Linked DNA regions of Homo sapiens: region 2 is linked to region 1. The links are contacts of gene promoters, found by promoter capture Hi-C in human tissues and cell types (Jung and others, 2019). All regions are on one chromosome and are shown on one strand. Each heading gives the region's core, a stretch centred on a gene start or on the middle of the fragment in contact. The rest is flanking DNA. Distances are from core to core; before and after follow the strand shown.

Evidence for each region. The method cuts DNA at HindIII sites, captures the fragments that hold promoters and counts their contacts. A contact is called where the count stands out against the background at its distance.
Region 2: a contact is called between a fragment that was not itself captured here and the fragment with the promoter of DEFB115 in region 1, in 2 of the 25 tissues and cell types used here (dorsolateral prefrontal cortex and mesendoderm cells).

What each region holds. Positions count from the first base shown.
Region 1 is chr20:31,255,365-31,259,788 of GRCh38, forward strand. DEFB115 (defensin beta 115) reads left to right here and starts at 2,300. Exons shown (of 2, transcript NM_001037730.1): 1 at 2,300-2,393; 2 at 4,096-4,268. The coding sequence starts at 2,300. The coding sequence ends at 4,268. The HindIII fragment of the contact is 11,769 bases long and covers 1-4,424 here.
Region 2 is chr20:31,318,171-31,322,594 of GRCh38, forward strand. No RefSeq gene overlaps it. Among named protein-coding and RNA genes, the nearest start is that of DEFB116, 12 kb to the left of the region's middle. The HindIII fragment of the contact is 4,475 bases long and covers 1-4,424 here.

The sequences.
Region 1 (4,424 bases), core at 1,050-3,549:
CTCTTGCTCTTCCCAGCATACCAAACACTTTTTTGCCTCAGGGGCTTTGCTCTTGCTGTTCTCTCTGCCTGGAAGATTCTAGATATCTATGTGGTTCAATTCCTAGTACATTCAGGTTCTGCCCTATGCCACTTCCTCAATGAGTCCTTACTTGACCCTCCTGCTCAAAATAGCCACACACACATATATCATGTTATTCTCTATTCCCCTTACTGTGCACTCAATCCTGTGTGCCTAACACACACACACACTCACACTCACACATACACATGTATATTATTCTGTTCCCCTTACTCTGCACTCAAACCTGTGTGTCACACACACACTCACACATACACGTATATCATATTATTCTCTATTCCCCTTATACTGCACTCAATCCTATGTGCCTTACACACACACACCCACACATACACGTATATCATATTATTCTCTATTCCCCTTATACTGCACTCAATCCTATGTGCCTTACACACACACACACACCCACAGATGTATATCAATATTCTCTATTCCTCTTACTCTACACTCAATCCTGTGTGCCTTTCACACGCACACCCGCACACACATATTATCATACACACACACACAAGTATATTATTCTCTATTCTCCTTTCCCTATTTTTCTTTATAGCACTTATCACCAACTGACACTATATGTTGTCCCTCTCCCTAATTAGAATGGCCGGACTTTGCTTTCTTCTCTTAAGCTCAGTGCCTAGAATTGTGCCAGTGCACAGACCCACATGCAGCCAATTCAGCCATCCTCCCTGCAGAATCTGAGGGGAGTGGTCATGTCGTCTCAGTTTGCAGCTTTAAAACAGCAGGAGCCACCAGCTAGCTCCTCCAGGCAGTCTAACCATTTTCCAGATGGTTCCCATCTTCAGAGGTCTTTCTGATGAGTTTCAAAACTTGTGCCCTTGCAGTTTCCACTCAGGCCTATTAGTTCTGCCCTGTGGGCCTACAGAGAACATGCCTTTCAGATACTTGAAGACAGCAATTATGACTCTCTCCAGCTGTTTACTGCTTTTCAAGTTAAACAGACCTCTCCTTCCATCATTGCTCAGGCATAATCCTCTGGGATGACAGAAAGAACATGTTATCTGGGGACAGGTAACCCAGATCTGAATCCAGACCTCACTCATAGTCACTGTGTAACCCTGAGCACATCACACCTGCCTAACAGGGCTCCTGTGAGGATTCCAGGGGGTCATATATATAAAGTGCTTAGCATAGTTGCTGCCTGACAGTGAAAGTTCAGTGGATGACATTGATGTTCATTGCTTTCCTGAAGAAAGTTCTGTCCAAATCCTAAAAGCAAAACAAATTTCCTGAACCCCATCAGGTCCGCTGCCTGCATGTAGAAAGAGGAGAGTAAAACCGATGCACACTGGACTCACCCAAAGGCGGAAAAGGACAAGGAACCCAAAAAGGAAGATCCAGTGGGCCCACAGGCAGCCCTCCTAATGGAGCCTGGGCAGTGCCCTCTTCTTTTTGTTGGAAAAACAGCATGAAATATTTTTTGCTTTGTTGTTTGAGGCTGGAGTCCAAGAAAGACCCAGAAATGGTTGATATGAAGGATTTGGAGCAGGAAAATAGGATACAAATTCAGAGTTAAGAGCTGGACAACGAGTTGGGTTATGAGGGCTTCCACCCCAGTCCGTTTCTTTCTTGCTCATGGTAGGACCCTAGACAATTCTTTTCCACTCTCAGCCTGCATTTTCTTAGCTGGGAAATGCCAATTCTAAGAGCTACTGGGATACAATTATATGCCACATGTGCGTTCACTCACTCAGTGCTTTTCAACACATGTTCACTGTATGCTCTGGGTGTACCAAAATGACAGCCTGTTCCTAACCTCAGGGGTCTCACTGTCTATTAAAAGTTTCCCTTAGGGTATCATTCTGAATGGGAGGAGGAACTAGAAAAACACTTAGTTCCAGTGTGTCATGATAAACACACAGAGAAAAAGAAAACAGCAGCTGTGAGAATGTAGGGGAGGGGGATAAATTCTGAAGGAGAGGGACAGGAAAGGCTTCTTGGAGAAGGGATCTGTTCTCTGGCCAGTGCAACAGCCTTGGAGAGGACTTGTACCTCCTCTGCTCGTGCCTTTCACCATCCCCAAGGATATCTAGAGCAGGACCCTGAACACCGGATAATCAGTTTATACTGCTGAGTGGCAGGCTGATGTTCTGGGTGGTGTAACATTCTGCCCTTCTCTAATTTTTTGTCTGTGAGTCAGCCTTGCCTAGGTCAATAAAATGCTGAGTGCACACCCAGCTTCCCCAGCACACTCAGAATGCTGCCAGATCATTTCTCACCCCTCTCAGGAGACATTAAACTCTCTGTCCTGGCCTTAGTTGTCCTTGTGGTCCTGGCTCAGACTGCCCCAGGTAAACAGAACCATGGAGAGAAGGGAAAAGGGAGTAAGGATGGGGTCCTAACCACAGAATCACTGGAAAATTGAACATGTGTAGAAGCAAGGAGAGCCCACAGGGATGGCTGAGATCTGATGAAAGGCTTATAATGAATATGCTCCCATAAGAAGGGCAGCCTGTCAGGCCTGACCATGGTGGTGGTTCTCATTAGGGAACCTGGAGAATATCTGCAGAGGCCAAGGTGTTTTATATGAAGTCCCTTCCATATGCAGAAGCAACCCCAACATCTCTAGTATCCTGAATGCCTCTGGCCCATATGTCAACAGTCTCATCCTGTGAGTCTCTCACTTCAACCCCACTTTCAGTTGATACTACCTCTTCTAATAATCAGTCTCATTACTTCACTTCTCCACTGTTGTTGGGCTTTGAGTGCTCCTTTAAAGCAGGCAGAAGAGGCAACTTGCTCTTGTCTTGGAATATATGGTGAAAAAGTTGTAAGTTGATGTTTGATATCTACAGGTTTATAAAAACAGGCTCACAGTATGGAGCTGGGGTTACAGCAGAAGATTTTGGCTTTCAAGTTGAACACGCTCAAAGCTCTCTAACAGTATAAACAGGCATCATGGCCAGGTGGTGAATAACTTTCTAATGGAAATGTTTTCCCCTTAGGCTTCCCAGGGGCTCTAAAGTTGATGATTTTTAATTCTGTGATTTCCTTTGGGTCGTTGCTGTTGGAAGTCACATCCTCTCTTGGAGCAGCTATTCAAGCTGAAAGCCTTTGCCAATCACTCAGTTGTTCTAGAAGCAAAAGAAGGTTATTCTGGGCTAACCCTGAGTTGGCTTGAGCATGCCTTATGTTCCAGCGAGGGCAAGTAGAATAGAGGGAGTTGCAGATGCAAGAGACATTTTGGAGAAAGAATCTACATATTGACTTATGAAATACTGGAAGAGAAAAGTGAGAGTCAATGTGACTGATTTTTTTCAGCCTGAACATTCTGGTAAAAGACAGAGAATTAGGAATTATCTCCCAGAAGAAGAGTTTGGGGAAAAGACAAGTGGAAAGAATCTGTAGTTTAGATTAAGATATAATGATCCCTCAAATGAATCCAATGTGCTGAGAAAACTGGGTTTGCAGTCTGCGTTGACTTAGAGTCACAGAAAATAAATCAGAGAAGGGCACAGTGTTAAACCCTCCCTGCACCCACCCCCCAACACACACACACACAAACACAACTTCAGCCTGCAGCTCAGAAATGTAAATTGGTCATCCATTGTTCAGGGTCTTGCTTTAAACAACCCCTGGGGCAAGCACCCCTAGAACAAACAATGCCTGGCACATAGTAGATGCTCAACAAATTGTGGTTAGATGAATAATGAATGGAGAGAGGATAAAAAAGATAATTGAAGGCTTAGTCCCACTCCCTGGCAAGCATCTAGATTTAGAGAGGAAGTAGAACCAGATTTAGTGAGACTGTGAAAAATGACAGAGAAGAAAGTATCATAAGCATAGGAATAAAATTCAATTAGAGCTGATTAGAGGAAGATAACTACTCCTAGTCATTAAACATGCACAAATTTATAACATTCCCATGAATGCCTTTAAGTGTCAAAATCAATGTTTCACTCTAACCATTATTACTATTACCAACATCCTTTCTTTAATTGTATTTATTTTTCAAATGTATTTATATATTCATGTGTTTGCTTATTTTGATAGATGGATGGATCAGAAGGTGCTATTATGGAACTGGCAGATGCAGGAAATCATGCAAAGAAATTGAGAGGAAGAAAGAAAAATGTGGGGAAAAACATATTTGCTGTGTCCCTAAAGAAAAGGATAAACTATCACACATTCACGACCAAAAAGAGACAAGTGAGCTATATATCTAGTTGCGACTCCTAATTCAGAATTTTAAGTCATTATAATGAGTCAATGAAATGGCTATCGGGGGCACCTGCATTTTCCTAGATCTCTGTCAAGTCTTCACAGGGCCCGTTAGAAAAACAAGCTCATTCCTGCTATCAATATATCTCTCTAGCCTGCTG
Region 2 (4,424 bases), core at 961-3,460, 63 kb after region 1:
TGTTCTGTATATTAGATTAATCCTACTAACTGGTGATTACCACATCTATATTCAGAGGAGGATTTCTAAGTCCCCGACTTTAATTATGGATTCATCCATTCCTCTTTATTTCTGATGATTTTTATTTACATATATTTCCATGCTGTATTAATAAAGGTACAAAAATATGTTTGGAAAACATGTCTTCCCAGTAAGTTGAACATTTTATCACTACGCAGTTATACTTTTTATCTCAATAATGCTTTCTTTCCTGGAAGTCTATTTTGTGTGATATTAATTTAGCTAAACTGCTTTCTTTGGGTTAGTGTATTTCCTATTCATTTCAACTTTATTTTTTTAATCCCAAATACTCATCTCCTAATTTATGTGCAATTTTAATTTTATCTTATTGTTTTTGGTTAAGAAAAATACTATTGTTATTATTTTATCAATGAATGATTGCAAATTTGCCACATATTTACAAGTATTGACCTTCTGTCTAAAGCTTCTCTCTTAGAATTTCCTTTGGTGATAGCCTATTATAGAAAATTCTCCTAGATTTTATCTGAAAATATCTACAGTATATCTTCATTCTTAAATTACAATTTCATTAGGTGTAGGAATATATGTGAGAGTTATTCTTCCTCAGCACACTGAAAATATAGTATCATTGTCTTCATGCTTTCTTTGTTGATGCTGAAAAAGTTGCTGTCAGTCTAATATTTGCTCCCTTGCAGGTAATAGGACCTTTTTCTCTAGCTGGTTTCAGATCTTCTCCTTGTTTTCATTATTCTACATTTTCCCTGTGTTCTATCTACATGTGCATTTTTCATATTTACCCTGGTTTTGATTTATTAGGGTTTTTTTTGAGTCTGAAAGATTGGTGTTTTTCATCAGTTCACAAGTTCTCAGTCATGTTAACTGGTACTATTACTTCTGCTCCCATTTTCTCTCCTCTTTCCTTCTAGAATTCCAAATAAACATGTTTAGGACTTCTCACTATATTTTCTATGTCTCTTAACCTCCCTTTTATTTTTTTAATCTTTTTGTCTATCTGCACTAAATTCTGAATAATTTCTTCTGAATAATCTCTTAATTCACTAATTCTCTCTTCAGCTATGTCTAATGTAATGTTAAATCCAAGTTTTTATTTTCACGTTATTTCAAGTTATTTCTATTTATTTTTCAGATCTGCTTCCTTTTTTTTTTTTTTTGTGATGGGGTCTCACTCTGTCAGTCAGGCTGGAGTGCAGTGGCATGATCTCAGCTCACTGCAACCTCCACCTCCCTGGCTCAAGCAATCCTCCCACCTCAGCCCCCTCAGTAGCTAAGACTATAGGTGTGCACCACCACATCCAGCTAATTTTTTGTATTTTGGTAGAGACAGGGTTTCATCATCTTGCCCCAGGTGGTCACAAACTCCTGAGCTCAGGCAACCCACCCGCCTCGACCTCCTAAAGTGCTGCGATTACAGGCATGAGCCACTGCACTTGGCCAAGATCTGCTTGCTTTTTATTTATAATTTCAAGTCTTGATTTTTTCTTGAAACATATTAAAGATGATTATTTTTTCTTTTTTTTTTTTTTTTTTGAGATGGAGTCTTGCTTTGTCACCCAGGCTGGAATGCTTTGTCACCCAGGCTGGCCCAATCTCATCTCACTGCAACCTCTGGCTTCTGGGTTCAAGCGATTCTCCTGCCTCAGCCTCCCGAGTGGATGGGATCACGGGGACATGCCACCACGCCTGGCTAATTTTTTTTTTTTAGCAGAGAGGGGGTTTCACCATGTTGGCCAGGCTAGTCTTGAACTCCCAGTCTCAGGTGATCTGCCCACCTTGCCCTCCCAAAGTGTGGGATTACAGACGTGAGCCAATGTGCCCAGCCATAAAGATAATTACTTTCTATTCTGTGACTGACAACTTCAATATCTGAATTGTTCCAGGTTTGAGTTTACTATTTATTCTTTCTGCTGCTTCTCATTCATAATGCTTTATTTTCTTGAGAGTTTTGTGATTTTTGTCTGCGAACTGATCATTTTCTTTAAACTTTTTTAAAGAGGTCTAGGATTAAGATGAGTTCTTCAGAGAATATTTATGTTTACTTCTGTCAGGCAACTAAGGGCATTACCAGTCTGGGCCTGTGTAAATTAGATTCTCAGCTTTAGATTTTTCATATCATCAGAGTGCCATGATTCAGGCTATATACTAAGTGAGGGCCTGCTTGGGATTACAAAATCTCAGAGGAGACTCCCTTGCACACACACACCCAATCTTCTCATTAACTAAATTAAAAACAGTTCATTTTCCTTGCAATCCAACTGGGGAGTAGGGATTGTTTCCAGCTCACTGTTATTGTAAAGACGCAATTCTTTGAAGTCCCATATTGATGCAGGAGTCTCTTATTAGGTTTTTTACCACTGGTACTCTGGATAGTAATTTCCATTTCTCAGTTCCATAAGGCCATGAAAAGCATAACTCAAGTTCATATGGTTCAGGAAATACCCTCAAGGTGGAAACTGTTTCAGTGTTTCTTTTCCTAAAAGGACTCCCTTCTCAATTCAATTTCTTGGTTCCATATTATTTAATTTTTGCAAGCTTATGAAATCATTTAAGAAAATATGAAAAATATCCATTTTAGAGATGTTTTCAGCAGAAAAGTACTCACTCTGCCATGGAGTTCAAGGCAAATGCTTAAGCCCAATGTTAAGCTTTGTTGCTCAGCATGGCTACTAGGGAAAGAAGATTCTTTCTGCCTATTCTTGAAATTTGGTTGCTATTTGACCAGTATCTTCTCTTTTGCTTTTTCTAAACAAGTCTAAATATGTCTGAACCTCAAGGTTATGTGCAACTTGAGTTTTTTTCAAACTTAGGTTTCTTTATCCTCTTATAAATTAGACAGTGTCACTTTATAATCTCCTTCAGGTAAGTACTTTACTGCCCATAAGATTATCTCATGCCCCACCAGAGAAATCTTTGAACTAAAGAAGTAATAAAATATTTTCCCAGTGTTGGACTTACCTTTTAATTTGTGTATGGTACATTTTGCCATAGAGAAGTAATTAAATTTAAGTAGTTAATTCTTCATAGCTGTTTTCTGGTTTTGTGCTTACAAATTTCCAGCAAAGTCTCTCTAAATAGTAAGTAATAAAGCCAACATTCATATCCCAAACCCTCAACTATATCCATTGTACCACACCATCTCTACATATAGTGAAACAGCTGGAGAAGGCTGACTCCTTTCTAGATAATGCCAGTTGCAGCTGCGATATCCATTGTTCTATAGGTTTTTGTGGGGGGTTTTTTTTGTGTGTTTTTTTTTTCCTTTCTAATATACCAGAGGTGCATACCATTATCTTGGTCCATACAAAATTTTTGGCATCTTTATAGCCCTCTTTAATGTTTATTTATTGTAATGTTTTTATTCATTTATTTTAAAAATAACGAGTCCTTCACAAATACAAGAGCTAAAATAGCATCAATAACTTAAATTTAAATACTCCTGTATTCCTCTAAAATCCCACACATCCTGCCTTTCCTTATCCACTCCCCAAGAATTTAACATATTTATTTGTATTTCTAAGTAGCATAATGGTAATTTTTATTGTTTAAAGTTTAATTTTGGGGAGAAAAATAAAACTGGGAAAAAAATAGTTTTATTTTTAAAAGAGGTAACAAAGTCTTCTTTGGTATGCATAGTCTTCTAAGATTTGTCTTTTACAATCCATAATATATTATTATTATTAAAATTCAACTATTGTGTGTAGCTGAATTTTACTTCTTTTCCCTGATATGTAGCTCATTCTTTGAATATATCACAATTTATTTATCTATTTGCCTGTCAAAGAACATTTATGTTCCTTACAGTTTGTAGCTTACCTTTTTACTTTCTTTTGGGTATCTTTTGATGGACAGAAATTCTTATATTTTTACATACTCAAACTTATCAATGTTTTCAATATAATTTTCAATACAGTGCTCACATGAAGACTCAGGTTATATATACATAAAATTTCAAGTGCACCCGTTTTCATAAAAGAAATGGAGTAAGTGAATTCCTCCACAGCTGTCACCATAAGTTCTCAGCATTTTAGTCTATTGAAATTCCTCCACAGTGATGCTCCCCTTGACAATACATTTATTTATTAGCACTCATTTCATGCTTATCCTTCTATGAAGGGCCAGGTATAATAAATTCTTCAGTACCTAAATAAACTAAAAATAATTCCAATATATAAACAATGCTCAAAGTCATCCCTTGTTTATAAGTATTTGAATAAACTAAAAATTATTTCTTCTATTTTCTTTGGATCAGGATGGCAGCAAAAAAAGGATATTTTTTTTCTTCGCTGAAGTTTTGGAAAGAAGGAATGCCTTTGTGTCAGGCTAGTATATGGCCTCCCACAGAAACCCAAAACAGTAGCTACATCTGCTGGCCTCCTGGTAGATCC